Linked DNA regions of Homo sapiens: regions 2, 3, 4, 5, 6 and 7 are each linked to region 1. The links are contacts of gene promoters, found by promoter capture Hi-C in blood cells and fetal thymus (Javierre and others, 2016). All regions are on one chromosome and are shown on one strand. The core of a region is centred on a gene start or on the middle of the fragment in contact, and the rest is flanking DNA. Distances in the headings are between cores, read along the strand shown. Region 1 holds the start of NPL (N-acetylneuraminate pyruvate lyase). Region 2 holds the start of ARPC5 (actin related protein 2/3 complex subunit 5). Region 3 has its middle 9.9 kb from the start of ZNF648. Region 4 has its middle 27 kb from the start of ZNF648. Region 5 overlaps LOC105371642 (a long non-coding RNA gene). Region 6 has its middle 83 kb from the start of ZNF648. Region 7 has its middle 110 kb from the start of ZNF648.

Region 1 (4,302 bases), core at 1,150-3,649:
TCATGTAAAGTGATTAACAACAATGCTAGGCACATAGTGAGTACGTGTTCAGTGCTCTCCATGAAGTCTTGCCTGATGTGTATAGGACAGTAGAAAATACTATCATGCCCTTACCAGCATCATCTTCCCAGTCATCTCTGCTCTGCTAGTGCCTCCTTTCCAACACTCACTACTCTTGTCTATTTAGGGACTAAGTCATTTCAATTCTGTTATCTTCTTCCCCTGCTATTCCTCCTTTCGCCTTTATAATTTTTCCCTTCGTTACCTCTTATCTAGACAAATAGGCAAAACCCCAGGTCCACAGGGCCCAAGAAGGTTCAAGTGATAAGAGTCCTGAGAGCTTGAGTCAGCATTAAACACCTCCTAAATCCAACACTACTAGGCTGTTCAGGCTAAATAAAACTCCGTAGTCTTGTGCTTTTGCCTGCATTTATTTGATACTAAGGACGGTAACACTGATGTTCTTAGAATCATCAGAAGCTCAAATTGGCAGTTTTATATGTCTTTAATGGAAAGAAATAAAACTAATTACCACAAATGTAGTTTGATTAGTTCAAAAATTCAAAACAAGGGGCCGTTGGGAGTGTAGGATAGGGGTTAGGAATCACTGTCCTAATCCCTCTTCTCTTCTTCAATCCACACCAGCTGTCAGATTAATCTTCCAGTAACACCAGCATTTCTGGTCTTGTCTTTGTCCTGTTTAGAAAATGCCAGTAGGCTAAAGAACCAGCTCCCTGGGGTCTGGGTCTCTATTGAAATCTTCGTGCCTGCACTATACTTGCCCAGCTGAACAAACTGTTTGCTGTTCCTCCTATCTACCTTTCACTGTCTGTCTGCTTGCCTTTGTTCCTGTGGTTCTCTCACTTCAATCTCTTCGGTCTGATCAACTTTTAAAGCTCACTTTATCCATTCCAGCAGGTATAGCTTAAAAACAAAAACAAACAAAAACCAAAAAACCTCTCATTTTAAAAACCAGGGGATTTCCTGATACCCCAGCCGAAAATAATTTCTTAAACCTCAGAATTCCCCCAAACAGTGGCTTTTCATTAAAAACCTTACATCAGAGTTATTAAGCAGGGTGGTTTTGGCTCCTCTCCTAGACTGTCTGCCATCTGGGGGCAATGGCAGCTTGGAAAATTTCTTTGCACAGATAACTACACTACGTAAAAGTTTGCTGCCTTTGCAAACTTTGAAACGCCTACAGGAAGAAATGGGATAAAAACGACTTTGGCCGGGCGCGGTGGCTCAAGCCTGTAATCCCAGCACTTTGGGAGGCCGAGGTGGGCGGATCACCTGAGGTCAGGAGTTCGAGACCAGCCTGGCCAACATGGCCAAACCCCGTCTCTACTAAAAATACAAAATTAGCCGGGCGTGGTGGCGGGAGCCTGTAGTCCCAGCTACTCGGGAGGCTGAGGCAGGAGAATGGCGTGAACCTGGGAGGTGGAGCTTGCAGTGAGCCGAGATAGCGCCACTGCAGTCCGGCCTGGGCGACAAGAGCGAGACTCCGTCTCAAAAACAACAACAACAACAACAACAACAACAACAACAACAACAACAAAAGACTTTAACAGAGAATGATCAGTATTTTTAAGATTCAAGTTTTTAATAAACTTGGGAATGTTATGCTTTGAAGCATAACAGATAATTATCATTATTTTTAAGATTCAAGTTTTAGATAAACTTGGGAATGTTATGCTTTGAAGTTTTCAGAGCTCGTAGCTAAAGCGAATAGCTCAAATGTTCTCCAGCCTAAGGCTTAATGTGAATTTAGATTATTACTGAAACATTGGGAGGGGGTATTACTCTTGAAATCTTATACCTCCATCCACAGATAAGAACACTCAGTGCAAAGAATTAAAGCTGCCTAAGTCAAATTCTTTTTTAAATGGCAAAGTTGTTTTTTTAAGAGACAGAAAGTGAGGGCAGAATGTACCTCTGGGCAGAGAATATCTTGAGGGACAGGTACTCGGAGAAGAGGAGATACAAATAGGGATTTTTAAAAAAGCAGAAAACCACCAATTTCTCCTCAAGTGAAGGGGGGATGTATCAGGTTTAACTTTAAGCTCTCTTCTGCTCAATTGCTAACTCTATTTTGAGGAAAGGACCTTTGGAGACCCGGCAGATATGCTGTCTGCAAACAATCCGGGGGAGTAAGTTCTTCTGCCCCCGTCTGTCCCTACACTTTTCGCATTCACACCTTCCCCAGATCCGTTTCCCAGCGTATCTGCCTTCCCTCTTTCCTCCGGGTCCGTCAACGTCTCACCCACCCGCGAGTCAGGCCCCAGCGCCCCTCCGCCCGAACGCCCAGGTCGTCGGGCCGTCTGCGTCCGTCTGTCCTAGCCCGTGCCGTCGCGGGCCGCGCTCACCCAGGCCTCCGCTCTTGTCCGTGCAGCCGCTCCGCCCGGCAGCCGCCGCCGCGCTTTATATCCGCGGCCGCCCGGCTCGGGCCCACGTGCCGCCACGCCAGGGAGCCTGGGGGTTGTAGTTCTGCGCCGCCGCCCGCGAGGCGCGCCCGGAACCGCTGGCCCGGAAACCCCGAAACGTTTTGCACACTGGAGTCTGCTCTTCCCCGGGTGTCACCTGAACAACATGGGCTGAAGTGACTCCGGCGCAGCGCCCCGGCTCCCCGAGGATCGGAAGCATCCGAACTGGCGGCCGGGTGCCCGAGAGCACGCGGCTCACCCGCGCCACGCCGAGTGCAAACCTCCCCCTGCCTCGTCTGCACGCCAGTCCTTCCCGCGTGCGGGCACCTCCTGGGCTCCGCTGCGTCTTAATTTTCCTTCTCTTGCGCAGGGCTCTGCAATCCCCACTATCTCGTGGTTCTGCGTTGTGAGGTTTGGGCTGCTGTTTCCGAGGCGTACGGAGAATCCCAACTGCCCATCGGCGTTCAGGTCTCTTCGGGTTGACGCCGCTGCACCAGCCCTGCAGACTCTCGTGTTAAAGAGAGATGAGCGAATTTTAAAGTGAATTATCTACTCATACGGGAGCTTTCCTGGCTTCTTTTGGAGAACATTTGAAAGAGTTTTGAAAGGGAAAATTATTTTTAACCCAACCGCCTCTACTTTCAGGAGTATCAGGAGTCTTATTCTAGGATCATGTACTGTGTGAATAAATCAGGAACAGAGCCAGAGACAAGTCCTCAGTTTTCTCTTGCTGATGTGATTCCACCTCAATTTTCCATAAAAGGCGATGGCTGATGCTTATTATTACATTTAGAGAAACTAAATTGTTCAAAGGGCTTTCTAGTTTGCAAAGTGCTTTTAAATGTATTCTAATAGTTCTTTCGTTGCACAGAGCACCAGAGATAATAGCTAATAAGTACTGTGTTCAGTGCTTACTCAGCCTGCACCGTTCTAGCTGTTTTAACATTTAATTCATAAAATAATCCCATTGGTGGGTCCTGTTTTATAAATGTATATATTACAGATGAGCAAGGATCATTCCATTTTACAGATCAGAAACAGGTTTAAAGAGTTGAAGTAATTTGCCAAAAGCCATAGAGCTGGTTAAGCTGTGGTTTGATTTCAAGTAGTCCAGAAGCTTGTGCTTTTAACACTATGTTATCCTACAGGAAAAAAAAATACAAAAAGAAAAGAAAAAGAAAAACCCTTAGTTACATGAAGCAAGTTCTCCTAAGGCTGCAGCATGGTTTTTGTTTTGGTTTGGTTTTTGTAATATTAACAAGAATATTATATCCTAATGGTACAATGAAAGTTTTTTTTTTTTTTGGAAAGTCACAGTTTAATAAGTGCAAAATTAAGTATGTCAGTACCCAAAAGGTATAGGTCATTAGGCTTAACATTGTCAACCAACAAACCAATATTCTAAATGCATGAACTAACTACTTTTTGTATAAATATGGTAGTGCAAAGTAATTCCTTATAATAATTTGTTAGTGTCTACCAAGAAGCAGATGCTAAGATGGGATTAGATGTGCAAGAAACTTACTGGGGGAGGGATTTGGAGCAGACAGGAGCAGCCTGCAGACTGATGTAGGGCTGACATCTGTGGAACAAAAGATGGAAGAAAGGAGCATGGAGTAGGGAGAGTCTCACTGCATTCTTACAGTATCCACTCTGTGCCGTTATGAAACTCAGAGCCTATACTGTGAAGTGTTGGGGAGACGTTGTTTTAAAATATGGTAAATGCAGTGATAGACTGTACAGAGATATTACAGGAACACTGAGCTCTAATCTGGGCTGAAGGGGGTGGTGTGTGTGTGTGTGTGTGTGTGTGTGTGTGTGAAGAGGCAGGAGGGTGTTCCAGAAACGTCTTACTGGGGAAGGTCACAGCCAAGCTAAA
Region 2 (4,302 bases), core at 712-3,211, 850 kb before region 1:
CTTGAATGTTAATTTAAACAATGTTACTTCTATCACCTAAATGATATACTTATAGAAGAGTGGTTTAATTGGGAACAGAAAAACACCACATTGCTTCTTCCCAAGAAAAAGGGATGTATTCCATTCTCGAGGTCTCTCTCCCACTCTCTATTTATATATAATATACTGCATAGATAAATATACACACATTATATATGTATTTTTTTGAACTTAAAGAAGACTGGACATATGTATTTACATGTATATATCCAACAAATATTTAATTTTGAGATCTCTCTCCCTCTTCTGATTTATTATTCTCAGTATGATTCTCAAACTGTACGGTCTTTCACATTTCATTCATTCATCAAGCATGTATCGAGTCCCTTCTGCATGCTTAGCTTTTTGTCATATGGAAGGAAGATACAAAAGAAAAACTGTTTCTGCCCTTCAGAATCTTTCCATCTCTTCTAGGAAGGAGATAAAACACCATATATCATTAAGAAATTTATAAGACTAGTCCCAAAACCAATGGTACAAGCAACATGCATTTTACATTTATGTAGAATTTTAGAGCTTGGAAACACTTTCGTGATATATAATCCTAAGAACAATCTTGTAAAGTGCACATTATTAGCTCCATTTCAGTGATGAGGAATCTGAGACAGAATTTTAAGTGACATGTCTCGTTCAAACATTATGAGTGGAAGAGTCAACACTTAAGCCTGAGTTTTCTGATTCTAAGCCTAGTGCTCTTTTCAACACAGCACTGGAAACCAAAGATTGTGGTACACAACAGGGCAACAGCCAGTCTTCTGCTCGAGGTCCAACTAAACTGGACCCATACCGAGCAGTGTCCAGCCAAATGTCCAAATTAATTTTATCCTGCAAATATTTGTTCTTCAGTGTAATACACACAGCACAACTACCATTTCCTTCGTCTTAGTGCCTTTATCTCCTACATTCCAGAAATGGGGATGTCAAATATTTTTTTAAATCTGGCCTAGATGGAATCATATAAATCTCAAATCATAATATAAATCTTAAAGGTCTGGTTTCCACCAATCCTTCCACATTTTGTTTTCCCCCAGCACTAGAGAGCCTAACCTACCCTCACCCCTTTCGAGCATTCTTGCTCCAAACGACCACCTATTTTAAGATGTCAATGACCCTTTCCCAAATTCTACAAATTCACCCCAGTTTTGCCACCCGACCCCAGCGCCTGCCCGGACACGTTCCCCTCCCTCCCAATAGATTTGATACCGAGTTCAGGTTCTGCAGATCCCGTTGCGATGCTGTCACACAGCACTGACAGATAAGATTTGACCTTTCGACTCCGTCCTTGGGGACTTCCCGCTGGCCAAGAAGGGTAGTTCCAATCCCAGGAAACGGGCTTCCTGCTCAGGAACGCAGCCTCTAGCAGCGCACAGTCTGAGGCAATGTCTCCGGCAATTAGAACGATGCTGGGCGCCCGGGTGTGCATCACTCTGCCTCATACTCCTACCAACTGCAGGGCACTCGGTCCGGCAGCCAGTCCATCCCACCCACAGCCAAGTCCCAGCCAGCCGGACCTTACGCAGGACCCCGATGATAGGTCGTTGACGGCTGCAGCAAAAGCCAAGGCCACCTGCCGCTGCTGCCCATCCCCGCCAATCTGAGACCCCCTAGACTGGACCGCAGAAAAGCGTTTCTATGGGAACCCCCCCACCGAGAATCACGTGACGCAATCGGACGACCAATCGCTTCTTACCTCTGCCCGCGGTCCAGCTTTTGGCCCTCCCTCTCGCCCCCGCCTCCTTCGCCCAGCCCCGCCCCTTGCCTGCGGAGAGCCCGCGCCTGCGCGCTGTGTCCTGCGCGCTCCTTCCCTCGCGCGCGCTCTCCGTGGAAGAGCAGGGGCAGCGTGGGAGGCGCCAAGGGAGCGCGAACCTGAGGAGGAAGAAACGGGGCTAGCGCGCAGGCCCAGAACGGTCCGAGCCGCGGCAGTCGGCGACGCCTCAGAGCGGAAGAGGGAAGTGAATCAGGCGCCGGGTAGTGGGTTGCTGGGCTGGGCTTGCTGAGGTAGAGGCAGCGCCAAGAAGAGGCCTTTGCCGCTGGTCGGGATTGGGATGTCGAAGAACACAGTGTCGTCGGCCCGCTTCCGGAAGGTGGACGTGGATGAATATGACGAGAACAAGTTCGTGGACGAAGAAGATGGGGGCGACGGCCAGGCCGGGCCCGACGAGGGCGAGGTGGACTCCTGCCTGCGGCAATATCCTTGCATTCACCGCCCTCCCCACCCCAGCCCAGCCCAGCCCGCCCTTCTCCTGGGACCCGGGAGCCTGCAGGATCCGCGGGGCACCGGCGCGGAGCTGCCCTCTCAACCTGCGGCTTAACCTGTCTCTTTGGGATCGCCCGCTCTGAGAGGGCAAGGGGGAAGCCCCCGTTTCCTACCCAGTCGGCAGGAGACGCGAGGGTCCCACTCTTGGAAGCCTGCCCTCCCCCGCGCGCCTTCCACGCCCCCAGATTCCTCAGGTTGCACCCGAGTGCCTGCCTGCCTCGGGAACTGGTCCCGCCGGCCGCGCCCTCGCGGCGCTGGGGAAGGCGGCCCCGGCTGGTGGGGAAGGCTGGTGCCGAGCGCCTTAGTTTTTCTTCCTAGAACTCTGATTTCCTGGGGTCACATTAGCTCCAGAAATTTCTGATTGTGGGGAACCTGCATCTTTCCTTAGTGGTTTTGTTTTTTGTTGTGTTTTTGTTATTGGTAGCGTTAAGGTAGTTTATTCCTTACCGGGGGGCGGGGGGAGATGGGACTGTTCGAAAATTGAGGGTCCCTGTGCTTTCAGCCCATTGGCCTTTTTAAAAAAAAAAAAAAAAGAAGAAGAAGAAGGGGATTTGGCAAAATATACATTGTACAGAATTTGTTAACTGGGGGAGGGGAATGAATACAAAAAATACAAAACTCCTAGAAGGAAGCTTGGAGCCTTTTACCTGCTAAGAAAAGGACAATAGAAAAAACAACGGGGAATGCGTGTGGAGAATCCTTGGAAATATTTAAAATAAACCCCAATGAATAAGATAGAAGATGAGTCATTCGTATAAAGCAGAATCATTTTTGTAATCCTAAAATTGTTTCCATTTTAGTTAAAATATGGCAGTCAGTTCCCGGTTTCTGTTTTTGCATATTTGAATATTCATAACTTTGGCTTCGCATTTGCATTACATCTTTTTTAGAAAAATGTAAATGTTGCAAAAAAACCGAAGCTGTAGTTTTAGAAAATCTCAGACACTGAATTTGTATGCATTTCTAATTCTTGGGTGTATTCATAAGGAAGACTCTCAACAATGTCCTGTTATAGTGGGGAAATATGAGAGTGAAAATATTTAATGGCAACAATATCCTTTTTTAAAGGCACCTAAATAGAGCATTAGACATTTATCAATATATAGATAGTGCTTTGCCACAACTTTCACAATTAATTAGCTGTTGCTCTTTTGCATTATTTAAATACTTAAGTGCTTGGAGTTATAAAAAATGAGCTAATCTACATCAGGCATGCTTCTCTAGAAATCCCTGCAGCCTTGAAAATAACAGCTTGTCAACCAGAGATTTTGTGTAAGAACTTTTTCTTTAGAAAATAAATGGTGAACATGCTTCCTAAAAACATTATTTGTGATGGATAGATGGTGTTTTATGAAACCCCAGTGTATTTTAGGTAATTTGTGGTGACTTTTAAATGGTACTGCTGTATCCATATCAGTGGATCTGCTTTTTGATCAGTTCATCTTAAAATATAAAGATACTGTCTCTTCTTACCGTTACATACAGCCAGGAAAGACAGCCCTAGTGGTGGGGTACTAGAGTTGGAGGAACAAGTGAACTCTGTGGTTTTCCTTTTAGGGGAATGTTTGTACATTCTGACAGTCTGATTGGCCTTCTGTTTCTCATGCTTGCTAACTCACTAGTGCTTTCAAAGAGAGCCTGAATTTAATAGGTATGGTCTAACACAGTTTGAATAACCTTTGTGAAATATGAGAGAAAATATCTAAAGCAAAAAATTAAGCTGCCACCTAAGGGACATATGAATTATTACATCTTCTGTGATGCCTCTTTTCATCAATATTGAGAGATTGCTAATGTGTATCATTCAGATTGCTAATCTGCCAGCATGTTCTACCAGCATTTCAGATAATACAGAATATGGTTCTAGCAAAAGTTTGGTCTTTATTTTTTCAATTAGAATCACAGGAAAAGACATATTTTGGTTGATAATAGGTTATTTCATTTGGGGGACTAATAATTCTGATATATATTTTAGGATTTCTTTAACACCACTCTAGGTAATGTTT
Region 3 (4,302 bases), core at 599-3,098, 720 kb after region 1:
ACCAAGCCAATTGTTGATGGTGTCATTTATTGAGATGGTAACATCTCAGAGAGGAGTAGATTGGGGGATTCAGTTTTGAATGGTTATGTTTATGATGTTAATGAGTAAAACTAGGCAGTTGAATTATAGAGATCTGGAATTCAGAGATATATTTTTGGTGGGTTTTAGAACATAGGTGAGATTTCAAGCCAAGAGCATGAATAAAATCACTTAGAGAGAACATATGGAGAAAACAGAAGAGAAGAAGAGAGGAGAGAAAGGAATAGGATCAGAGAAGAGAGGGAAAAAGGGGAGATAAAGGGAAGGGGAAGAAAATATTAAAGAAGAGAAGAGAGAAGAGGAAAAGAGAGGTAACAGAAGAGATAGAAGAGGAGTGGAGAGGAATGGAGCACTTAGGGCCAAATTCTGAAGAATGCCGACATTTAAAGACAGAAAGAGGTGGAAAAGAGACATATGAGGAAGCCAGGAAAGGAAAGTGGGGAAGGAGGGTGAGGCCAACCATGTTTACTGAGGCTGAGAGTTTCAGTAAGGGACAAAAAATGTGTATTTTGGCTTTTCCTAAATGGAGGTCAACGACCTTGACTAGAGCAATTTCAATTAGATGGAGGGTAGCAGCTAGAGTGTAACAGGCTTGAAGAGTAAATGGAATGAGAAAAAGTGGAGAGAGCATGTGTAGATAAGGGTTTCTAGAAGCTGGCCTGTATGGGAAAGAAGCAGTAAGAGAGAAAAGGCCTCTCTTACCTAGGACAGCACTGGCCTCTGCAGCTGGGCTGAAGTGGGAATTGTAGGTGCTACACCTGGGTACAGAGGTACACACATGAAGATGTGCTGCCCAGATCTTCCTCCAGAGAAGCACTTGCTGTGCAGCTGTGGGGAATGTAGTCAGCAGACAACCTTTAGCTGTCAGCTCCTTCAGAGTCTGCCTCAACTGCAGAGAGCTGCCTTGTCCGAGATCATAGCCTTTCCACTGCCTCCTGTATCTGGTGACCTGGATATTGAAAGAGCTGGCCTCTTCAGCCCAATGCTGGGCACTCTGCCCAAGGAAACTTGCTCCAAAGCTTTCTGCCAGGTTGGCTGAGGCTTTGTTGGGCCTCATCTTCCGCTACCCAATTCTGTTGATCCCCCTTCCCTTCAGAGATGTTGGTCCCTAATATAACATCTTGTACCCCCAAATCAAAATTCAACTCACAAGAGAAGTCCAGCTACCCAAAAATAGCATAGAAGAGATGTGACATCACCATTGCTTATGTACAAAATGCTTTGGGATGTTTCTTAACACTGAAGGGGTTAGGTGGTTGTGCCCACCAGAAAGGCCAAAGTTTTTGGGATACCAAGGGAGAACCAGAAATAAGGAAGAGCCAAGTCTTCTTTGCTCCATAATGGTCAGACCAGCTGCACCCAAAACATCATGTTCAGTTTGGAAGCCATGTTTGAAGAGACCCGTAAACATCATCAAATGCTGAGTCCTGAACAGAGAAACTAGGACTACAAAAGGACTGCAGTTCTTTTCTCATTTTTTTCCTCAGCTACCAGTCTCTCCATGTTTTCTACTTTTTGAGAACAACACAGCTGTTATGCACTGAGCTCTTGCACTGTGCACGGTGATGATGAAATGTTTGTCTGCATAACACATACAGAAGTTCCATAAGAGAGGCGCTGTTAACCCCATTGCCCCTCCTACACAAACAGGCCTGAGACAAGCCAGAGAACTTCATCAAGGTCATACAACTAGCAAGTGGCAGAGCAGGGATTTGAACGCAAGCCCTTCTGACTCCAAAGTTGTACTCCATACTCCTGCCTTTTCTCATTATATAAGTTGAGTATCCCTTATCCAAAATACTTGGAATCAGCAATGTTATGGATTTCATATTTTGGAATATATGCATATACATAATGAGATATCTTGGGGATGAGACCCAAGTCTAAACACAAAATTCATTTATGTTTCATATACACCTTATATACATATTCCAAGGTTAATTTTATATGATATTTTAAATAATTTTGTGTATGAAATAAAGTTTGCATACATTGAGCCATTAGAAAGCACAGGTGTCACTATCTCAGTCACCCATGTGGACAAACCAAACATGGTTGTTTGGCATCATCATCATTCCTGACTCTAACTGTGGATGCTACCAATAAGCAATCATTTTCCTATACTTATTTACACATAAGTACTTAAACAGTAAAAAAAGATACATTATTAATACAATGAAAAAATAATGTGTCTGGGTAAATAAGCAGCACAGGAGCATCACCAGAATACCTGTATCAGCTGTCAGACAACAGCAGCAACAAACAACAGGCTTTCAGCTACAATGCTGTGTTTTGATTAAAAGGTCATTGAACGCTGTATTTTTTTTTTTTTAGGTGAGGAGAAACATCCAAAGCAGTGGGGGACCAGGAGGTGGGTCCCTTAGGATGAGGAGGCATTCTGAATAAACTGTGTGTTGTGCACCTGCATTTTGGCTATGACCTGTCACATGAGGTCAGGTGTAGAATTTTTCACTTTTGGCATCATGTCAGTGTTCTGAAAGTTTTGGATTTTGGAGCATTTCAGACTTTGGATTTTGAGGTTAGTGGTGCTCAACCTATACTAAGCAGATGGCTACAGTAAGGCTGTTCTGAAGCTTGGGGATGTCTTCACCTCTTAAGAGGAAGAATCCTAATGGGTGAGGGTAAACCACCCAAGGAGCCGATGTGGGTGTGTAGCCCAGAAACACAGAGCTGAACAGGCTCAGGAAGCCCCCAGGTCCACTGAAGGTGCTGAAACAGTGTCACTGGGACTGGGATGAAACTATAGCTGGGTGCTAACTAACTAAGGGGCAACCTTTACAGTTGAAGATGTGTCAACAGGAGAATGGCCTGCCAGGGTCCAGGAAAAGGGACTTGGCAAAGCGAGAACTTAGGTCTATCCCCAGTACTGCCCATATAGGTTGTGTGAGAGCAAACCTGCAGCTGGAGCCACAGGTAACAGGGCCCTGTGCAGTTATAACCAGGAACCTCTGTTTTAAAAATCACCCATTTCCTTTTCTTCCTTCCCTTCCCTCTTACCCCTTCATTCCTTCCCTCTCTAGACAATCCCCTCACCAGTGCATGCTTATCTAATTATGCTCTTACCTAAGAAATCCCAGAGGCTAATATTGAAACAATCCAGGTGCCCCACTCCTCCCACTTAGGGGGAGTTGTGAACAATTGAGCCAAAATCAAGCTAATACCAACCAGACCTCCTGATGAGCAATTAACCAAGAGAGCCAACGGAACAAGACACACAAGTCCAGTACCCTGTACCACTCCCACATGTCCCCTATACCACATATCCCTTTAAAAACTCTATGGTAAGTTATAAAATGTAAGATGATACTTTAGAATGCTAGCTTGCCATCTTCTGGGTTTGCTGGCTCTGCTTTTCCTCCCAGAACCCCTTGCCTCTGGCTTTGCAGCAGCAAGCAGCTGAACCTGGGTCCGGTTACACAGCCGTGTCCTTGGGGTGCAGAAGAGGCACCAGGCTCCTGATACCAGCCCCAGCTCTGATTCAGTGCTCTTGGTGCTGTAGTTCAACTTGTCTACACTGTCCTATGCATAGAGCCAGGCTGGTGAGCCTTCAGGAATGTCCTGGGATCCTCGGCAGTCCCGTTTTTCCTGGTAAAGAAGGACTGCACATCACTGTGCAAAGGGCCTCTGCCATATCTCATCCTCCCTCCCCTCCTAAGTGAGAAAACCTGGCTGAAGAGCAGAAGCTTGCTCTCCAGAGTAGCCATGCCTGGAGCCCTCACACCTCTGCCCTTCCCTAACTAGCCTGGGCACCTGGGGTGGAGGTGGTGACAGGTGGGTGGGGGAAGCGTGTCAAAATAGAGTTTTTGTCTCTGCAAGGCCAAGGACTGGGTCTGGCCCAGGCACTTTCATCTGATGAGGCCCAGCTATTAGCAGATTGTTGATACTTTTTATTCCAAATGTAAGATTTCAATTCTACATATGTACAAGAATGTAATTTGCTTCATTGATGTTTTCAAACATGATGACATAAAATTGCTCAAAGTATGCCTTTATATTTTTATACCTTACTTATATTTTATTTCTTTTTAACTCACCCAGCCCCCACTCCCCATTAGATTTGCCAGAGGTTTTCATGGTCTTTTCAAAGAATAGACATGCTTACTGTTCAATATAGGCAAAACCAGGCCACAGCTCATCCTGCCAGGAGAATCCACACCTACAGAGGGATGCCGCACTCCAGCAGCCCTATAGGAAATTTCTTTCAAGAAACTTGCTTCACACCCGTGGCCAGAGTGCTATGAA
Region 4 (4,302 bases), core at 900-3,399, 700 kb after region 1:
TAGAAGCTGCTTCCTAGAAGGCCCAGTTCAGGTGCATAAGAACCTCACAGTGGAGCTTTCTGGGACAGTGGGTGTGGCCAGGGGCCCTGGAGATGTGGCAACTAGTTTGTCCTATTTGGAAGTAATATTAAACAACAATAAACACTTACTTATAAAGCATGTACTAAGTGCCAATCCCTGTTCTGAGTGCTTCACACAAATTAACTCAGTGAATCCATAAACAAACTCTGTGAGGTGGATGGCATTCTAATCCCATTTTACGGGTGAGGAAATTGAGGTCTATGGAGGTGAAATATCTTGTCTGGGATGCCATAAGTAGCCTGAGGTGGAGTTCTGGCCCCTGAGTCCATGCGTTAGGACCCCAAAGAGCAGGGCTGATTAACACTCACCAACAGAAGGCAGGAAAAGGCTTGCTTCAAGCCTGACACACAGTGAATGCTAATTGCACCTTGCCTCTCCTCTTCCAGCCGGTTGCCATGCTGGGATTCTGTAGGGCAACTAGCACCGTTCCAGGTTTCAAAGAAGGAGGTGGCCTTTGTGTGGTGTCAAAACACTGAATTAGAAATCAAAAGACCTGTGTCTCCGTTACCTTTGTGGTCTTGGGCAAGTCACTTAAGCAATCTGACTTCTAATTTCTGCATCTATAAAAGGAACATATGCCCCTTATAGGTAATAGGGAAAGCCTATTACCACTGTCAGCCCTTGGTAGCACTTAAATGAGTTGGTTGAGTATGGATCTGACCCAGGATTCAATTCTAGGTGGATGAGATATTGTGGGACAGGTAGGGGCCTCTCAAGTGGGAGGGACTGTAGTGCATTAGTGTTTATTTTGAGCATTGATGCCCACAGAACTCATTGCACTTGGGCCATCACCTGCTCCAGTCCTCAAGAACAAAAATCTTACCGTCCCTGAGCAGCCTAGAGCAAGGTCATACAGATGACGTGCGGGACAAAGCCTCACTTGGGCAGAGGTGGCTCTTGCCCGCTCAACTGTGAGATGCAGGACAAGCCCTGAATCCCACAGGGTTTACCTCGAATGCATGCCCTGGGTTAGTGAGTAGTCATCGCTGCATGAGGAGTCCCTGCCCACAGCTGCTTCCACCGTCTGATCATTCCCCAGAGACCACATTCAAACCCCAAAATTGGAGCTGACAAGTTCTTATTTTTCTTTATTTTGTAATTGCTGTTACTTCTGGGGCTTGCAATGAGAGGAAGGATTGGATAATAGGCTTCTGGCCTGGAGAGATGAGATGGGAATCTAGTTAGTCTTTTGGCCTCCACATGAGGTTTTCATGGATTTCATATTCACACCTCATTTGGGGTCTGAGACTGTGGGTGATTTTGTCCCCATTCCTGCCCACATCTGTCCAATGGGCTGTTACAGTTCTTGGGGTCCCCACTCTCTGGACATGGTCATGCTCAGCAGGCCCCTACTCCCTGACTCCTTGAGCCAAGAAGGCCATTCATGTGGTTTCTCTGTGCTGCAGGGCACTGTGTATGTACAGGGAGCACAGGCCTTAAAGGAGGGGCTGTGTCTTTGTTGAGGGTGAATGTGTGATGGATGCATGAGGTTTCAGTCATGTCAGCCAGTGCCCATTTAAGCAAACACCCAGGACTAGATGGAGCAGGAAACCATGAGCCTCTGTGGCTGACTTGGGAGATACCTTCTTTCTTTACAAGTCTGTTCTGGAGTCAGTGGTGCTCCTGCCACTTCAGCTGGGCTCAGGACACCGAGTGCAAGATGCAGTTTCAGGATCTGGAATCCACAGCGCTAGTGGGCTGCTCAGGGGAGGCTGGGAGAGGTGTTTCTCTCGCAGATGCCCTGGATGGCATGGGTTCTGCTAGGTGGCTTGGTGAAGGAAAGGGCAGGATCCGTCTCACACATTCCAGGCACTGTGGGGGTCAAATATGAAGAGCAAGCTTACTTTTTCCCTCTGATATTTCTCTTGCCTTCTATAAAACAGAATGTATATTCCCTTCCTGCCACTCATCAGAGCATCTTACAAATATTGACTCTGTGTGCTAAAGGCCTACCAGGGCTGCAAGGGCCCAGGGAAGCTCAGCCGAGCTCTAGGGCAGATGTTAAGGAAAGGGAGGAAGAGGACCTCTCTCAGGGCTCCTGTCACAGAGATGCTAGGGAAGCGGCCATCAAGAACTGCCAGAACAGCTTCCTTACAGCCAACGATGCTAGCCATGGCACCCAGACCCAGGTTATGGAGCCCACTGGCTCTGCGGATTCCAGATCCTGAAACCGCATCTTGTATTCGGTGTCCTGAGCCCAGGTGAAGCAGCAGGAGCACCACCGACTCCGGAACAGACTTGTAAACACACTTCATCTAATGGATGGGCCCAGCTCTGTGCTAGAATTCAAAGCTTAAATGAGACTCGGGCTTGCTATTGAGGAGGCACAAGTCAAGGGGAGGAAACAGGCCCCCAAGCAGAGATAAAGATATACACGGTGCTTCACCCAACCCACAGGCAGGAGCACCCTGTGCTTCTCTGCAAGGTCAGCAACTCAGGGGATGCGACCTCTGCCACAGCTCCACAGGGTCACTTCCCTTACTTTCGGAGGAGCACCCATTGGGCACTCAAATCAACACCCTGGGTTTAGCAGCCACTCTGTGATCCCAGCAGCACGGGGTGCTGCTGGAAACCTAAACATTTATTCTTTCACTCAAAACGCTGAGCGCCTACCAGGCGGCACACATTGCACTGAATGTCAGAGCCAGAGATCCTAAGGCTCTGAGGTGGGGAGGACAGAGCTGGAGGCAGATTACACACCTTAAAATGTGGGTGCAGAGGTGGGCAGGGAACACCACTGGGATGTGCCCATGAGGATGAGCCAAGACGGAAGAGCTGCGACTTGTTTACCAAAAGGCATTGACGACTCGATGCTCCGTCTTCCGTGGGAATTCACCCAGCTTTGTTCAGATGTTACTACCTCTGCCCTTCCCAGTTCCTACCCCATGAAAGGGCATCTGAAGGTGCTGACATCAGAAATGGCAAGTCAGGACACACGCAAGTTCCACAGGGCTTCCTGCTGCCCCGCCCAGCCTCTTTGCAGCCGCCTCCTGCAGCCCCAGGCACAGGCCTGACTTTGGTACAGTTGAAGTAATGCCCCAGTTTTGCCCTGGGCTGGGACTGCCACCTGGGGCAATAAGGGTGGTTGTTTTCCCCTGTGGTTGCCCTCCTGGTTACCTTAGTGACTCATGGAGGCAGTGGGCCAGCCTGGGACAGAGGAGCAGGGGTCTGGTCCAGGGCCAGCCTGGGGCTCTGATCCGCGGCTGCCCCAGATGTCCAGATCTGACCAGGAGCTATGAGGGAGGAGCCTGCTCCCATATAGCCATAACTTTTCTGTTCTGAGCTCATCAGTGTGGCCTGATAAAGTCTACAGAGAGGCCCTCAAGGAGGAAGAAAGAAAAGGCAGGGAAATATACTTTTTTTAGCTAGAGCTCCATCAGCGAGTACAGAAAGAGAACATTCTCCTAGGAGAAAGCAAGGCATACTCTGTCCTCAAGGTGCCATTTTCCCCAAGCAATAGAGGCAAGGCCAGATGAGCTGTGGAGGGGTGGAAGATGAGCTTGTGGCTCCCCACCCTGTCCCTTGCATGCACACCCACCCTCAGGGGCTGCAGCTGGGGTGGCTGAGAGGGGAATCCCTGGTTCAGGCTTTCCTTGTCTTACACAAACTGAGAAGGAAGCCTTGAGAATGCTGGTAGTGCATGCAGGGTGGAGCTGAGAGGGCGGAGAATGAGGTTTTTCACCCACCCTGTGGGCCCTCCTGTTTCCTCCACCCTCCCTGTAATCTCAAAACATCCTGACTTCACTGAGCAAAGGCCCCAAGCTTTTCATGGAAGAGCAGCAGCTTGCAATAGCCCCAGAGTCTGAAGATAACATCTCCCTTGCGGTGGCAAGAAAAGGCAAGGGTGCTCAGGAGAGTGCAAAAGTCCTCAGGCCCCAACCAGAAGTTCTGCCTCTGAGGTCCTCAAAGACACGGGCTCCATCTCCTGCTGTTCCCGCTTTGATTTTAGGGTGTTGCTTTGCTGTACTGGTGCCAGTAGCGGCCACACTGCAACTCTGCTTCAGGCACAAGGATTGGGGTGGGACCCTGTGTCCGCTCTGAGAGCACTTCTGCCTCCAGCCCTCTCTTGGTCCTTGTCCTTCATGTCCTTTTTTGGTGTGAACTGGGTTCAGGAGAGAAGCCCAGGCCCTGACATCTGTGGTCAATGCACACACTCCAGGAAGTTGTCTTAGGGATCAACCAGGGGCACCCACAAAATGGACTGGGGATCATGACTGGCCT
Region 5 (4,302 bases), core at 561-3,060, 670 kb after region 1:
GATTACAGGCATCAGCCAACACACCCAGCCCTGGCCCTCATCTCTTTTCCCATTAATGCTGGAGGGGGCGCCTCACAAACCAAGACACCTGCTAGTCGTTGGACTCACTCTTGATGACCAAGGTGCCGTATCTAGTAATTGATACAGTTATCTTTTCCTGGGAATATGAATAGCAGGTTCTTAGTCCTTGCACAGGCATTTTAAAAATGCACAAACCAAAGAAAAAAATTGCTTTTTCCAGATCCCAATCCCTAGCAGGACTAGTCAATAGGTCCCTGTATCCAGATAAGAGAAGGGATTTATGGGAGCATCCCATAAGCACATGGCAGGGAAAGAGAACAAATTCTAAATGTCCTGAGAACTGTTTTTTACCAAGCATTGCATTGTCACCATGCTGTAAAAGTAATAAACTTCCCTCCCATTGTCTGAATCTAAATAGGGGAACCAACCTCCAAGTCCAACCCCCTTCCTCAGGGAAACTGCTTCTCACTGTGCTTCAACATGACCTTTGGCTGGGAACTAAAATGTGAGTCTGAATTTGGTAAAGCTTGGATCCTTTCATTTTTCCCAACTCTCCCAGTCCAGAGGGATAAAAATCCCTGCTCCTAAAACCCAGTGGTCTCTGTGAATGAGCTCATCCAACTCCTGCTGGCTTTCTGGATAATAATGAAACTCACGTTGACCAGTCTTTCTACATTGTTTTATATATATATAGTTATATATATAGTTATATATATAGTTATATATATAGTTATATATATAGTTATATATATAGTTATAGTTATATATAGTTATATATATGACTTTATATATAATATAAAGCTATATATTTTTTAAATTTATGAAGATAATACTGATGTTGTTGGGACAGAAGCCTGAGAATTGAGCCTTTTTGCGTCCCCTTTCTCTCTCTGTCTCCTCCTCAGACCCTCAGATTTCCACCTGGAGAAAGGGGATGAGAGTAGAATGAAGTTGAATCATCTTGACTAAGGGAGGTGGTTTCTTCATCAGACATGCCCTCTTAACCTGGGTGGTAGTTGGAAGCTGAGGCAGGCAGGTAATAGGTAATAGCAGCCTAGTTAAAGCATGGAGACTGCATCAATGCCACCCTCAACCCCTCAACAAATGGGGCACAACTAGAACAGGATGTTTAGGACCAGAGAACGCTTTCACATGCCTGAGAACAAACAGAGTAACTGGTCAGCCTATCCGCTGATTTGTGAGATCAGCCCCTTGGAAGCCTTTTCTTCCATCCCAGGCATTATGACTTCAATTCAACAACTCTTAAGAGATGCACAGAGGAGCTTGAATCAGGAACATGGGGTTCAATGGTTACAATTCCCAAAGATGTCGAAAACAAAGTTTAAAAAGTATGTGACCATTTTGTCAATTATGTTTTCTCTATAAAATAAAAAAAAAAAGAAGCTTCGGGTATCACTGACATGTATCTTAAGATTTAGAGTTACACAAACACTCTAGTATATAATTTTTGAGCTTCCGCACTAACGTTAAGCATTAATAATTACTGATCAGTTTAATCTAGGCCATAATGTTATATACAGTAAATGAATTGTTTCTGGAAGTTTCTAAGAACAATTCTGAAATATGGATGTGGCTGTGGAGAATGAGGGTTTTTCTTTTCAATAAAAAATAAACGTTTTTTCTTTTTGCTCCTCCCCTGACTTTATTTTTTACAACAGTTTTAGATTTACAGAAAAATTGCAAGGATAGTACAGAGCTCCATGCACCTCTCCTTCAATTTTTCCTGTTGATAACATCTCACAGGAGTATGGTACATTTGTTATGATTAACAAATATTGATACATGATTGTTAATTAAAGCCATACATTAGAGAATGGGGATTTTACAGAAGGTTGGCATTAAAACTTCCCTGAAGTATCTAAACTCAGGCCTTTCACATGGCGGAGAGAAGCCTTTGCTGCCTTTGGATCTTCCCATTGCCATTCCAGACTGCCTGCTGCTTTCCCGAGTTCTTTCTGCAAGGGGCAAAATGTTTTCTGGTCAAAAAACTTGGTTGTCCATCATGCAGCAACAGCCACATGTCTTTCTTTTAAGTTGTTCTCAAAAACAATTTATAATAGCAGTGGAGTGAATTGGCTAAGAGTGGTGATTTTGGAATCAAATAGATTAAAATCCAGTTCTGTCACGTATAAGCTGTTATTTTATCAAGCTTTATTTTTCTCATCTGTAAGGGGAAATGATCATAGTGTCTTCCTCATTAATTTGCTATGCGTATTGAATGAAAATGTTTCAGAAGCACCCAGCATCATGCCAGGCATATAATACTAGTTCAATACTGGTACCTATTGTTAAGCTTAACAGGTGAGCTTTTTTTGAGAAGCAACTATGGTCAACAAGCTAGTCAATGAGTAATCTAGATCAATTTGATGAAAAATAATTTTTCCAACAAAGATCAGCTTCAAAGAGCAGTGGGGAGAAGAGACATCGTTGTGGAAGCATAAAATTAATTGCCTGAAGAATTCTCTTCAATTGGAAAGAACAAGGCAAGTATAGGGACTACTTATGTGAAAACATGTGAGGAATCCCAGCCTGGGCAACATGGTAAGACCCCATCTCCACAAAAAATACAAAAATTAGCTGGGTGTGGTGGTGCATGCCTGTAGTCCCAGCTACTCAGGAGGCTGAGGTAGGAGGATTGCTTGAGTTCAGGAGGTCAAGGCTGCAGTGAGCCGTGATGGTGCCACTGCACTCCAGCCTGGGTGACAGAGTTAGACCTTGTCTCACAATAAACAAACAACACATGCGAGGAGGTACCCACAGGCTTTTTCTTCTTTACCATTCTGCTTGAAAGATTAAGGCATCAGTAAATGTTTAGAGCAGCAGATATCTCTATTAGAGGCATTGTTGAGGGACAGATGATGTCCCAGAGGGAATTAGGAGCGTTATGGAGACCTGGCTCCTGCCTTCCTATTCTCCCCCTCCTCCCTCACCACCTCTTCCAATTCTGCAGCTCTGTGGATCTACTGCAACACATCAGACAGGCAGGCTCTCTGGGCTGGCCAAGTCCTTTCTTGCTGTACTCCTTCTGCCTGGGTGCACCACCACACCTGCACCTGGCTATTCATCAAGACTCAGCTTGGCTATCTCTTCCTCTGGAAAGCCTTCTCTGGTCACCACCACCCTGGTTAGCACATGCTCCCATAGGTTTCCAGTCTCCATTCTTAGGCTCTAACCCACTGCATCACCTCTCTGCCTCACTCTGTTGGGAGTACCATAGGTACACAAGTCTAGCATGGTACCCGGGATGTGGTGAGAGCTCAGAAAATATTGCCTCGTGCCTATTCTCTGAGCATCTCCAAGCCCAAGGGCTTTTGATTCTTCCCTCAAATGCTGAAGTGGAAACAGTTAGGGGAGGCACGTAGATGTAGCGAACGTTGCCTAGCTACACCTGATGCATAAAGGAGAAAACTTTAAAGGTGTCTCTATAAATAATATAACTAAAGCCAGTATAGGATTAAACAGTAACAGATAAATTATTTCATGCAGTGGTTTCCAAGCCCCAATGCAGGAAATGATGTTGGTCTGTTGTGAAGTTTTCCCAGGTTAATGGGGATTCTCCTCAAAAAATGGCCACTGGTCTCATGAGGGTATTCAGTGCTGTGGGCAGGGACTCTTGGCTAAGAATGGCCCCAGAGAGGGGGTCGCCCTGGTGTCCACTTCCTTCAGCACTCCCAGGAGAGATGCTTGGTCTGTCCTAGCCCACCTTCCTAAATATTGTGACCACTATGACAATACAGTGGAGGCAGCAAAAGTGAAGCAACTCCTTTGAGGTCACACAGCTACTAAGTTTTGAAATTAGGATCCAGGCCCATCTGTCTGACCCAGAGCATTTAACCTCTGTATTCCTAAGCAACCGGCATTTACTCATGTTGTAGGCTTGGTGCTCAGAAGGATAGAGTCTTCCTGTATGAGGCTGAGCTGGCAAACCCAGGTCCATTTTACATGTACATGTATTTCCAGGCTGGATGGCATTGGCGTCCATTTATCATTTAGGAAACATTTTATACCACCTAATTCCCTTCCCTCATTATCCTGTGGGTCTCTCTAGGACTGGGGAGGAAGGCAAGATTCCAGGGTGGATAGAGAGGTATCTTAATACCTTATAATACTTACCGCACAGTAGTCTCTACTCTGCACTTGAGGATTACAGTAGTATTCTCAGAGGGAGGATTACTGCCGTGGGTTGAGTAGCTCTGTAATGGACTCCAGAAGTCCCTAAATAGGTAAGTTGGATAAGAGCTTGGTATTTCTTTAAATAGG
Region 6 (4,302 bases), core at 830-3,329, 640 kb after region 1:
TGATTGGATTTATTCTACACACAAGGTATTAGAATCAACATAGTTTTTTTTTTTTTAAGTTTCTATGTTTCCATTTTACTTTTTTTTTTTTTTTTGAGACAGGGTCTGGCTCTGTCACCTAGGCTGGAGTGCAGTGGCATGATCCCAGCTCACTGCAACCACTGCCTCCTGGGTTCAAGTGATTCTCCTGCCTCAGCCTCCTGAGTTGCTAGGATTACAGGCATGCGCCACCATGCTCGTCTAATTTTTGTATTTTTAGTAGAGACGGGGTTTCACCATGTTGGCCAGGCTGGTCTCGAACTCCTGACCTCAAGTGATCTGCCTGCCTCGACCTCCCAAAGTGCTGGGATTACAGGTGTGAGCCATTGTGCTTGGCCCATTTTACTATTTTTATGCTTACTTTGTATCTACAGAAGTGATATAGGTTTTGCATGTAAAGTGAAATTATCACTTTTACTTCTGAAACAAAATGATTTAAGTCAGAAAGTTTGCTTACAGGAAAATTAATGTAGTATGAAGCAGTATTACCAGGTGTCTGTGGGTGTGGTTGTGTACCCTGAGGGTATGGTACCGCGGGGCTGGTATGTGTACCCTGAGGCTTGGTGAGCACCTGGTCAGTGAGCCGGTGTTTGCCTGGACAAGTCTGAGCTGCAGTTGACACAATGGCCATTGGCCAAACTGGTGGAAAGTTTCAATGACAGGTAAACAAAAGACTGAGGACCAGGAGGGGAACAGCCAAAGAGGATGTAGGTATTACAAAGGAGAATTTGGGGAACATTCTACTAACCCGATAAGTAGCCGTGTGTTCAAAAATGTCTTTTGCCCTTCCCTGAGCCAGTCTTCCTTCAAAATGTTAACAATACCACTGTTTCTTTCATTCCAAGAAGCTTGATCTTCACACCTGACATTTCAGAGATCCTGTGTCTTACAATTGATGTGTATGTTTAACAGAGAAACATTTTTCTTCTCCTTTCCCCCTAAAAGCTGTTATTAACTCGCTGCTGTGTCTTAGTCAATGGCTTCTTAGAGTCTAGAAAATACAGTAAGAGTGATGTACGAGAATACGTGGTTTTGAATGTGGTGCTTAAGATACATCTTTGACTTAACAATTGCCTTAAAATCCTACCTTAACAAAAATTTAGCTCTTACTTTCAATTTTGATTTGCTTTTGATTAGACACAAGTAAGGAGTGAAGCCAGACACAAACCCAGCTCTTCTCATTTGAAGTTCAGAATTCTTTCCCCTGCATTCCATAATTTCTCCATATTTATCTCAGAGGACTATGCAGAATATGACAGTGGGTTACCATGGAATATCTGGGCAAGGAGCTCTAAGAGTAAAACTCCAGGCCAAAGACAAAACAAGTATTCAAATCCCAAGGCATCTCTGTGAGATGACAGATGCTCTTGTCTGCTCTTCAGATCCGAGGGGTTTCCGGAGGGCCAGCAACCATGCCCCCAACACGTAGATGGCTTAGCTTGCCTAAGAAGGGCGGGCATTGTAGAAATCTGGACAGTTCTGCTGACCTTCCTCTTTCTGTCTCCCCACTCTTGATTTTTTATGTTAGTCCCCATGGCACACCCTCTTTGTGAAGTCTCTCCAAATGGAAGCACAAGCTCTCCCGAAGGATCCCACACCCCACAGAGTGATCTCTAGGGTTGCCCATAGCAACAGCTGGTACCATGGAAAAAAGCCTTCCTTTCATCCGTCAGAGCTGGGCAGTAGGACCCTCTCCCAGGACCCCAGGAACAAGGTCTTTTTCTAGCTCTGCTATGGAAACTTGGGTGACACACATCACCTCTTGGAGCCTCAGTTTCCTCATTTACCAAATGAGGCTGATGTGAAGTCATTTTAGAGTCCCACTGAGGACCACTACTGTGATTTTCCTTCACCAACATGAGATACATGTGGCTGGTTTCAGGCTCTTTCCTGAAGCAGATCTTAGTACTGGGGAGGATGGACGGTGATGTCGCCACTGAGAGTGATGAGAGAGAGCAGACCCACCACCAGCTGCCCTCCTGATCCTTGGAAGGCCAGTCTCACATCTCAACATTCCCAGCCACCTTGTTACCAACGCTTGTGGAAAATTTGATTTGGACAGAAGGGACTCCAGCCCCTTTTAAGTATACATATGCACATGCTTTAATTATTAACTGCTTAATGTTGTCATTGAAAATATTTATTTTAATACTACTCTAAAAGAGTGAACATTTTTCACGTATTGACCCACAGCTGATTTCTTATCTGCTGTTACCAAGAACAAGAAAGGAGAGAATAAAGCTGAGGAAGGTGGCAGGCTCGATAAATGTTAGATTGAACTGTTCTTTTTCAGTGCATGCCCTGCCCTTATCACTGATATTGCCATTTTCTACTTTCTTTTTTTTTTTTTTAAAGTGTATTTTGAAGGCAAATAAGAAAAGAGAGCTATGGTGTAGTCTGGAAAACCAGGGTGTTTACCGTTTAGAGGAACCAGAAGTTCATAAGGGCCTGGCTGGACTAAGAAATGACAGCTCAGCACAGGGAAGGGGGGAAAAAAACCAACAGCAGCAGCAGCAGCAATGCAAGAACAAAACATTTTAAGAGATCTGGCCAGAACTGGTCTGTACAAATCCCCAGCTTGGCCTTCCTCCTCCACTCCCCCTGGCTCCCAGGCCTGTTTCCCGGAGTAGTAGCAGCCTTGCCTCCCCTTAAGAAACCTGCCCACAACTCACACTCCCTACATGCCAGTCATGCACACTCGTGTGTGTCACACCCTCTGCTCATCCCCCCACCCACTGAAGTCAGACCATGTGTGAGGGAGGATGAGAAGCCGGGGAAGAGGAAGACAGCTCAGCTGGCTGGCCCTGGCCCCTGAAGAAAACAAGCAGAGGCAGGGAGGGAAACATACTGTTCCCTGCAATCTGATCACCTCCGTGCAAGCCTCTGGGCTACACACCCAGGCCCAGGCCCAGAGGCCACGCTAATGAGACCAGGCAGGAAAAGTGAGCTGGTGACTGTTCCTGGGCAGATTAGAAACACATTGTGGAGAAGTGGGGGCACGGTGAGGGTGTGCAGGGCAGTGTGGTTGAGGCTGGGTGTGGGGCTGGGGCATGCGGGCCCAGAAAGGAGCAGAAGAAGGACTGCTGTCTTTCTGAGCTCTGATTCCAGCTCCTGGGGTGGCCCCCTGGCAGCTGCTGAGGCCTCACAGTGAGAAATCTGGAACAACAAAGGCTCTGGGACAAAAGACTCTCTGGCCAGAGGGGCTGCTGCTTTACAGGGGCCAAAAGCTTCACTTCTGAGGGGCACGTGGGTCCACCAGTGTGGGAGGCTGCAGGCTGAGAGGCAAATGGGGTTTATTGAGGAAAGGGAACAGATGTTTATTGGGCATTTGCTGGGTGCCCCCATTAAGCTAGGCTCTTTTTATGTATTTCACTGTGTTTGAGATCACTGTGAAATCCTCACTGCATCGGAAAATGGGAAGCAAATAGCTTTTTTCTTTTTATTAGGTCAGTGACACCTAGAGTTCGCCCAATATCACATCAGTGCCATTTGTTTGAAAAGTTAACCAGAGGCCAGCTGGGATTTTTGTCACTAGGAAAACAATGTAGCATGCGCTTCTTTAGCTTCCAGTCCAGGCAAGGACCTTCGGGGGTGTGAGGATGGAAGTATGTCTTCATGCTTTCTCCTGTGAGCCGCCAACCCACAGAACTGCTGGACCCTCAGCCCTTCAAATCCATCCTCCGGGAAGGTGCCTCTCAAACCTGCAGGGCCACCGCTGAAGTTCTCCCACGGACTCTACTCTAGCGCCCTCTGGTGGCCACCACTGCCAAGCCTGGTTGACTTGACTGGGAATTTCTGGTTAATAGCAGCTACGTTAATATCACTTAGCCCAGCTTTGTGAAGGTTCACTTGTGCTTTTACTTCACCTCTGATTTCTGCGTTATCATTACTCTTTCCATGTTTCCACAGCCTTTGTCAGTTCTCTGCTGCTTCATCTACGTTATTTTCATGGGGACCTGTGTTATTTTCATGGGAACCCCAAAATCAGGGAGATGTTTTCTTACCAAGATCTTTGTTTTGTACTATATTGCCAGTGGACCAACTTCGTTTTATTGGAATTTTTTTTTTTATTTTCTGGAGGATCTTTCTCCCTTCCTCCCCTTAGGAATTCAGGACACATTTCTGAAAGACTGGTTTTACTATGTGAGAAGCACAATGTTGTATACTATTTGAATTTGAGCTTCCCTTGTCCAGGGACGGAGTGTGGGCATGCCACCTCTGTTCAGTTATGGGGTGAGTTTCTTGGCCGCCTGGGACCCCTGC
Region 7 (4,302 bases), core at 1,318-3,817, 610 kb after region 1:
TTCTCAATCACATCTACAAAGTCCCTTTTGCCATGTAAGGTGACATATTTACAGGTTTTGGGGATTACAACATGGACATCCTTTGGGAGCTATTATTTTGCCTACTGCAAATATCAACTGTTGGTGAGAATGTTGTGATGGTTAATTTTATGGGTTAACTTGACTGGGCTAAGGGATGCCAAGATAGCTGGTATAACTTTTTCTGGTATGTCTGTGAGGATATTTCCAGAAGAGATTAACACTTGAATTGGTAGAAAGAAGAAAAACACCCTTCAATGTGGGCAGGCATTGTTTCATCCATTGAGGACTCAAATAGAGCAAAAGAAATAAATAAGGGCAAATTCACACTCTCTGTTTAAACTGGGACACCCATCTTCACCTATCTTTGGACAAGAGTAGTACTCCTGACTCACTACTGGCTTTCTTGGTTCTCCAGCTTGCAGACAACTTCTTGCCCTCTGTAATTGTGTGAGCCAATTCCCATAATAAATTATATACATACATAGAATCTCCCATTGGTTCTGTTTCTTTGGAGAACTTTGATTAATACAGATGTAGAATACCTGGAACTCACACTGCTGGTGGGAACATAAAATGATACAGCTATTTTTAAAAGCTATTTGCCAATTTCTTAAAAGTTTCTTACCTAACCACCCAGCAATTTCACTGCTAGGTATTTACCCAAGAGAAAGGAACACATATATCCACACAAAGACTTGCACACACATGCAACTTTATCATGTCCACAACCTGAAAAACAACTAAAATGTCCATCTACAGGTGAACAGATTTTAAAAAGCTATAAGATACAATATTATATTATACTCTAATAAAAATGAACAAACAATGGGTATATGCAACAACGTGAGTGAGCAAAACACCACCAAACACAGAAGAGAGAGTACATATTGTGTGATTCCATCATATAAAATTCTAGAATAAGCAAAATTAACATGTAATAACAGAATCACTCGGGACCCAAGTGGACTGTAGACAGGAAAGAAGAAATTCTTGGGGTGATGAAAATGTGCTAAATCTTGATTGCAGTAGTAGTTACATGAGTGTATTCATTTGTCAAAACTAATTGAACTCCATCCAACAAAGGAGTGCATTTTGTTGTATATTAATTATACCTCAATAAAGTTCAATATTTTTCTGTTCTGAGAAGGATATTAACTGCCCCCTCTGATGAGGCTAAATAACTTCCAGGAATTTCTTCCTGTCTAGCAAGAAGTTCTTCAGGGGCCAGTAGGCTCCATTTCCTCTTACTTTGCTCTCAATTGAGGTTAAAAAAAAAAACTCTATGGAATTTGGATCTCAAAGAGATATCTGCACTCCCATATTTCTTGCAGCATTATCTACAATAGCTAAGGTGCGTAAGCAACTTAAGTGCCCATCAACAGATGAATGGATAAAGAACATGTAGTATATATACACAATGGAATACTATTCAGCCTTGAAAAATGAAATCCTGTCATTTGCAACAACATGTATGAACCTGGGGGATGTTATGCTAAGTGAAGTAACAGGCACAGAAAGACTAATATCACATAATTTCACTCATATGTGGACTCTCAAAAATTTGAACTCACAGGCGGGACATGGTGGCTCATGCCTGTAATCCCAGCACTTTGGGAGGCCAAGGCAGGTGGATCACTTGAGGTCAGGAGGTCGAGACCAGCCTGGCCAACATGGTGAAACCCCCATCTCTACTAAAAATACAAAAAATTAGCTAGACGTGGTGGTGCATGCCTGTAATCCCAGCTACTCAGGAGGCTGAGGCAGGGGAATCGCTTGAATCTGGGAAGCAGAGGTTGCAGTGAGCTGGGATCGCACCGAGACTGCATCTCAAAAAAAAAACTTTTTTTTTGAACTCATAGAAGAAGAGAATAGAATGGTGGTTACCAGGGGCTGGGAGGTTGGGGGCAGGAATGGGGAACTCTTGGCCAAATGGTACAAAGTTTCAGTTAGACAGGATGAATAACATCTGGAGATCTCTTTTACAGTATGATAACTATAATTAATAATAACGTATTGACTACTTGAAAATTGCTAACAGTAGATTTCAAGTGTTCTTACCACAAAAATTGATAAATGTGTGAGATGATTGCTATGTTAATTATTTAATTTCAATATGTATACTTATATCAAAACATCATAATGTACACTGCAAGTATATATAGTTTTGTCAAGTATACCTTCATAAAACTAGGGGGAGTGGAGAATGGCTCCTCAACAATCTTCAAGTGCTGTAAGGCACTTAGCCAGGACCTAAGTCCCCTGAAAACCATTCCTCCAGGAGGCTTCCTCCAACTGTAATTTGCCCCTGTGAATATGCCCATTCTCCCTATTGTGAAGAGCCCTAAGTTGCTCACAATTGGAGAAATGACTGAGCCAAAACAAAGGGATGAGCTGCAATGTGATCACAAATTTGGAAGGAATCCTGATGGACTGTCTCATTCTGATTTGTTCTGCTTTCTCCAAGCTGGGTCTGTTTTACTCAAGCAATTGAAAAATGTCCATGAAATGCCACATGCTATGCCTTGAATTAATTACAACAGCTCTCATTTATTCAGACCTTATTCTGTCCCAGGGGCCGGGCCAAGTACTTTATGTGCATCGTATATAAATTAATCTTCCTAGCAACCTCATGAGACAGATACTATTACCACCTTCATTTTATGGATAATGGATTAAAAGTCAAAGTGGTTAAGTGACTTCCTCTTTGTCAGTGGAGAACCATCCAGGGTTTTACAACTGCAGAGCCCATTAAACCATTGTCGTATACTGTTGATCCTTGTTCTCACAGATTTCAACATGTTGGGAGGATGACATAGAAACCTGAAACTAAGCATACAGGGAAGTGGGCTCTAGCCTATTTGAAAAGGCTCTGGAGGGCTGGGCGTGGTGACTCACATCTGTAATCCCAGCACTTTGGGAAGCCAAGGTGGGAGGATTGCTTGAGCCCAGGAGTTTGAGACCAGCCTGGGCAACATGGTGAGGCCCTGTCTCTATTAAAAATTAAAAAATTAGCCCAGCATGATAGTGCATGCCTGTAATCCCAGCTACTAGGGAGGCTGAGGCGAGAGGATCACTTGAGTCTGGAAGGTCCAGTCTGCAGTGAGCCTTGATCACACCACTGTACTCCAGCCTAGGTGACAGTGAGAACTTGTCTCAAAAAGAAAAAAAAAGGATAAGGCCAGGCACAGTGGCTCATGCCTGTAATCCCAGCACTTTGGGAGGCCAAGGCTGGCGGATCATGAGGTCAAGAGATCGAGACCATCCTGGCCAACATGGTGAAACTCCATCTCTACTAAAAATACAAAAATTAGCTGGGCGTGGTGTGTGCCTGTAATCCCAGATACTCAGGAGGCTGAGGCAGGAGAATTGCTTGAACCCGGGAGGCAGAGTTTGCAGTGAGCCGAGATTGCCCTACTGCCTGGCCACAGAGTGAGACTCCGTCAAAAAAAAAAAAAAAAAAAAGAAGAAAAGGCTCTGGAAAAACCCTTTTCTACTCTCCCCTCTCTAACCTGTGCTTTTTCCACACAAGCATCCTGGGCTTTTGTAATTAGCAGAATGCTTCCAGACTGATGAGCTGTATGCCTCATCAAATTCCTGATTCCTGATATACAGAAGAGAGACATGAAGGAGATGCTTTTTAAAGAGTGTTTGCAGAAAGCAAGAACATGGCATTCATTCACTTAATCATTCTGGAGCTATTACTAAGCCAAGTCATTGTGTTGGTGCTGAAGATATATTAAACAGACTTGGATCCTATTCTCAAAATGTCATGTTCTAATAATTATCACGTCCTATCACACCTTCCCTGTTGTTGGCCAAATTTCACCTCCCAATCTGAACTGTCATCGTAGCCTGACACAGCCAGCCCTGGCTCTGGGATGACTCTCTGAGTACTGCTTCCCTGATGGGAGTAGGATGGCTGAGGTGTGGCGTTCCTGTGGATTGGCCAAACAATCATTCAGGAAGGAAGGAACTGGTCTCCCCTTTCCTGTTCTCCCTTCCCTTCTCAGTGAACTATAAGGAAACAGTGAAATAGCGGTCTGGGACTAGCCGCAGGGACCCTTAATAAATTGCTTCTACACATCCCTCTTGCTTTTTAATGGAAAGAAAAGGGGTGGAGTAGATCTCTTATACAATTTCAAAATTGAATTGAGTTCAGTTCTGTAAAATAAATTCTAAGTTACATCATAATGGTATGGGAACATAGAGATCTGAGCCAAGGAAACATGAACAGACTGTTCCTAAAAATAAAAAATAAAAAAGTCTTGGTGCAAGAGCAAA

The links. Contacts are between HindIII fragments. The CHiCAGO score rates a contact against its expected background, and 5 or more counts as called.
Region 2: a contact is called between the fragment with the promoter of ARPC5 here and the fragment with the promoter of NPL in region 1, in 3 of 17 cell types (neutrophils, naive CD8 T cells and fetal thymus). The highest score is 5.5, in neutrophils.
Region 3: a fragment that was not itself captured here is called in contact with the fragment with the promoter of NPL in region 1 in 3 of 17 cell types (megakaryocytes, M0 macrophages and fetal thymus); the score reaches 5.9 in megakaryocytes.
Region 4: a fragment that was not itself captured here is called in contact with the fragment with the promoter of NPL in region 1 in 11 of 17 cell types (M2 macrophages, erythroblasts, megakaryocytes and 8 more); the score reaches 12.2 in M2 macrophages.
Region 5: a fragment that was not itself captured here is called in contact with the fragment with the promoter of NPL in region 1 in 2 of 17 cell types (M2 macrophages and M0 macrophages); the score reaches 7.0 in M2 macrophages.
Region 6: a contact is called between a fragment that was not itself captured here and the fragment with the promoter of NPL in region 1, in 5 of 17 cell types (M1 macrophages, M0 macrophages, M2 macrophages and 2 more). The highest score is 19.3, in M1 macrophages.
Region 7: a fragment that was not itself captured here is called in contact with the fragment with the promoter of NPL in region 1 in 5 of 17 cell types (M1 macrophages, M2 macrophages, M0 macrophages and 2 more); the score reaches 9.1 in M1 macrophages.

Annotation. Positions count from the first base shown.
Region 1 is chr1:182,787,870-182,792,171 of GRCh38, reverse strand. NPL (N-acetylneuraminate pyruvate lyase) reads right to left here and starts at 2,399. Exons shown (of 13, transcript NM_030769.3): 1 at 2,367-2,399. RefSeq lists an enhancer at 2,246-2,746. The HindIII fragment of the contact is 6,627 bases long and covers 1-3,542 here.
Region 2 is chr1:183,633,442-183,637,743 of GRCh38, reverse strand. It overlaps ARPC5 (actin related protein 2/3 complex subunit 5), which reads left to right and starts at 1,961. Exons shown (of 4, transcript NM_005717.4): 1 at 1,961-2,227. The coding sequence starts at 2,085. It also overlaps a transcript of RGL1 not described here. RefSeq lists silencers at 1,678-1,837, 2,318-2,367, 2,448-2,507, 2,459-2,677 and enhancers at 1,988-2,267, 2,265-2,765. The HindIII fragment of the contact is 3,712 bases long and covers 1-2,930 here.
Region 3 is chr1:182,069,435-182,073,736 of GRCh38, reverse strand. It overlaps a transcript of ZNF648 not described here. Among named protein-coding and RNA genes, the nearest start is that of ZNF648, 9.9 kb to the right of the region's middle. The HindIII fragment of the contact is 1,575 bases long and covers 1,061-2,635 here.
Region 4 is chr1:182,086,956-182,091,257 of GRCh38, reverse strand. No RefSeq gene overlaps it. Among named protein-coding and RNA genes, the nearest start is that of ZNF648, 27 kb to the right of the region's middle. The HindIII fragment of the contact is 453 bases long and covers 1,923-2,375 here.
Region 5 is chr1:182,115,206-182,119,507 of GRCh38, reverse strand. It overlaps LOC105371642 (a long non-coding RNA gene), which reads right to left. Exons shown (of 3, transcript XR_922341.3): 2 at 4,156-4,257; 3 at 860-1,997. Among named protein-coding and RNA genes, the nearest start is that of ZNF648, 56 kb to the right of the region's middle. The HindIII fragment of the contact is 766 bases long and covers 1,428-2,193 here.
Region 6 is chr1:182,142,839-182,147,140 of GRCh38, reverse strand. No RefSeq gene overlaps it. Among named protein-coding and RNA genes, the nearest start is that of ZNF648, 83 kb to the right of the region's middle. RefSeq lists enhancers at 2,246-2,913, 2,914-3,582 and a silencer at 3,591-3,767. The HindIII fragment of the contact is 2,379 bases long and covers 890-3,268 here.
Region 7 is chr1:182,174,043-182,178,344 of GRCh38, reverse strand. No RefSeq gene overlaps it. Among named protein-coding and RNA genes, the nearest start is that of ZNF648, 110 kb to the right of the region's middle. The HindIII fragment of the contact is 6,123 bases long and covers 1-4,302 here.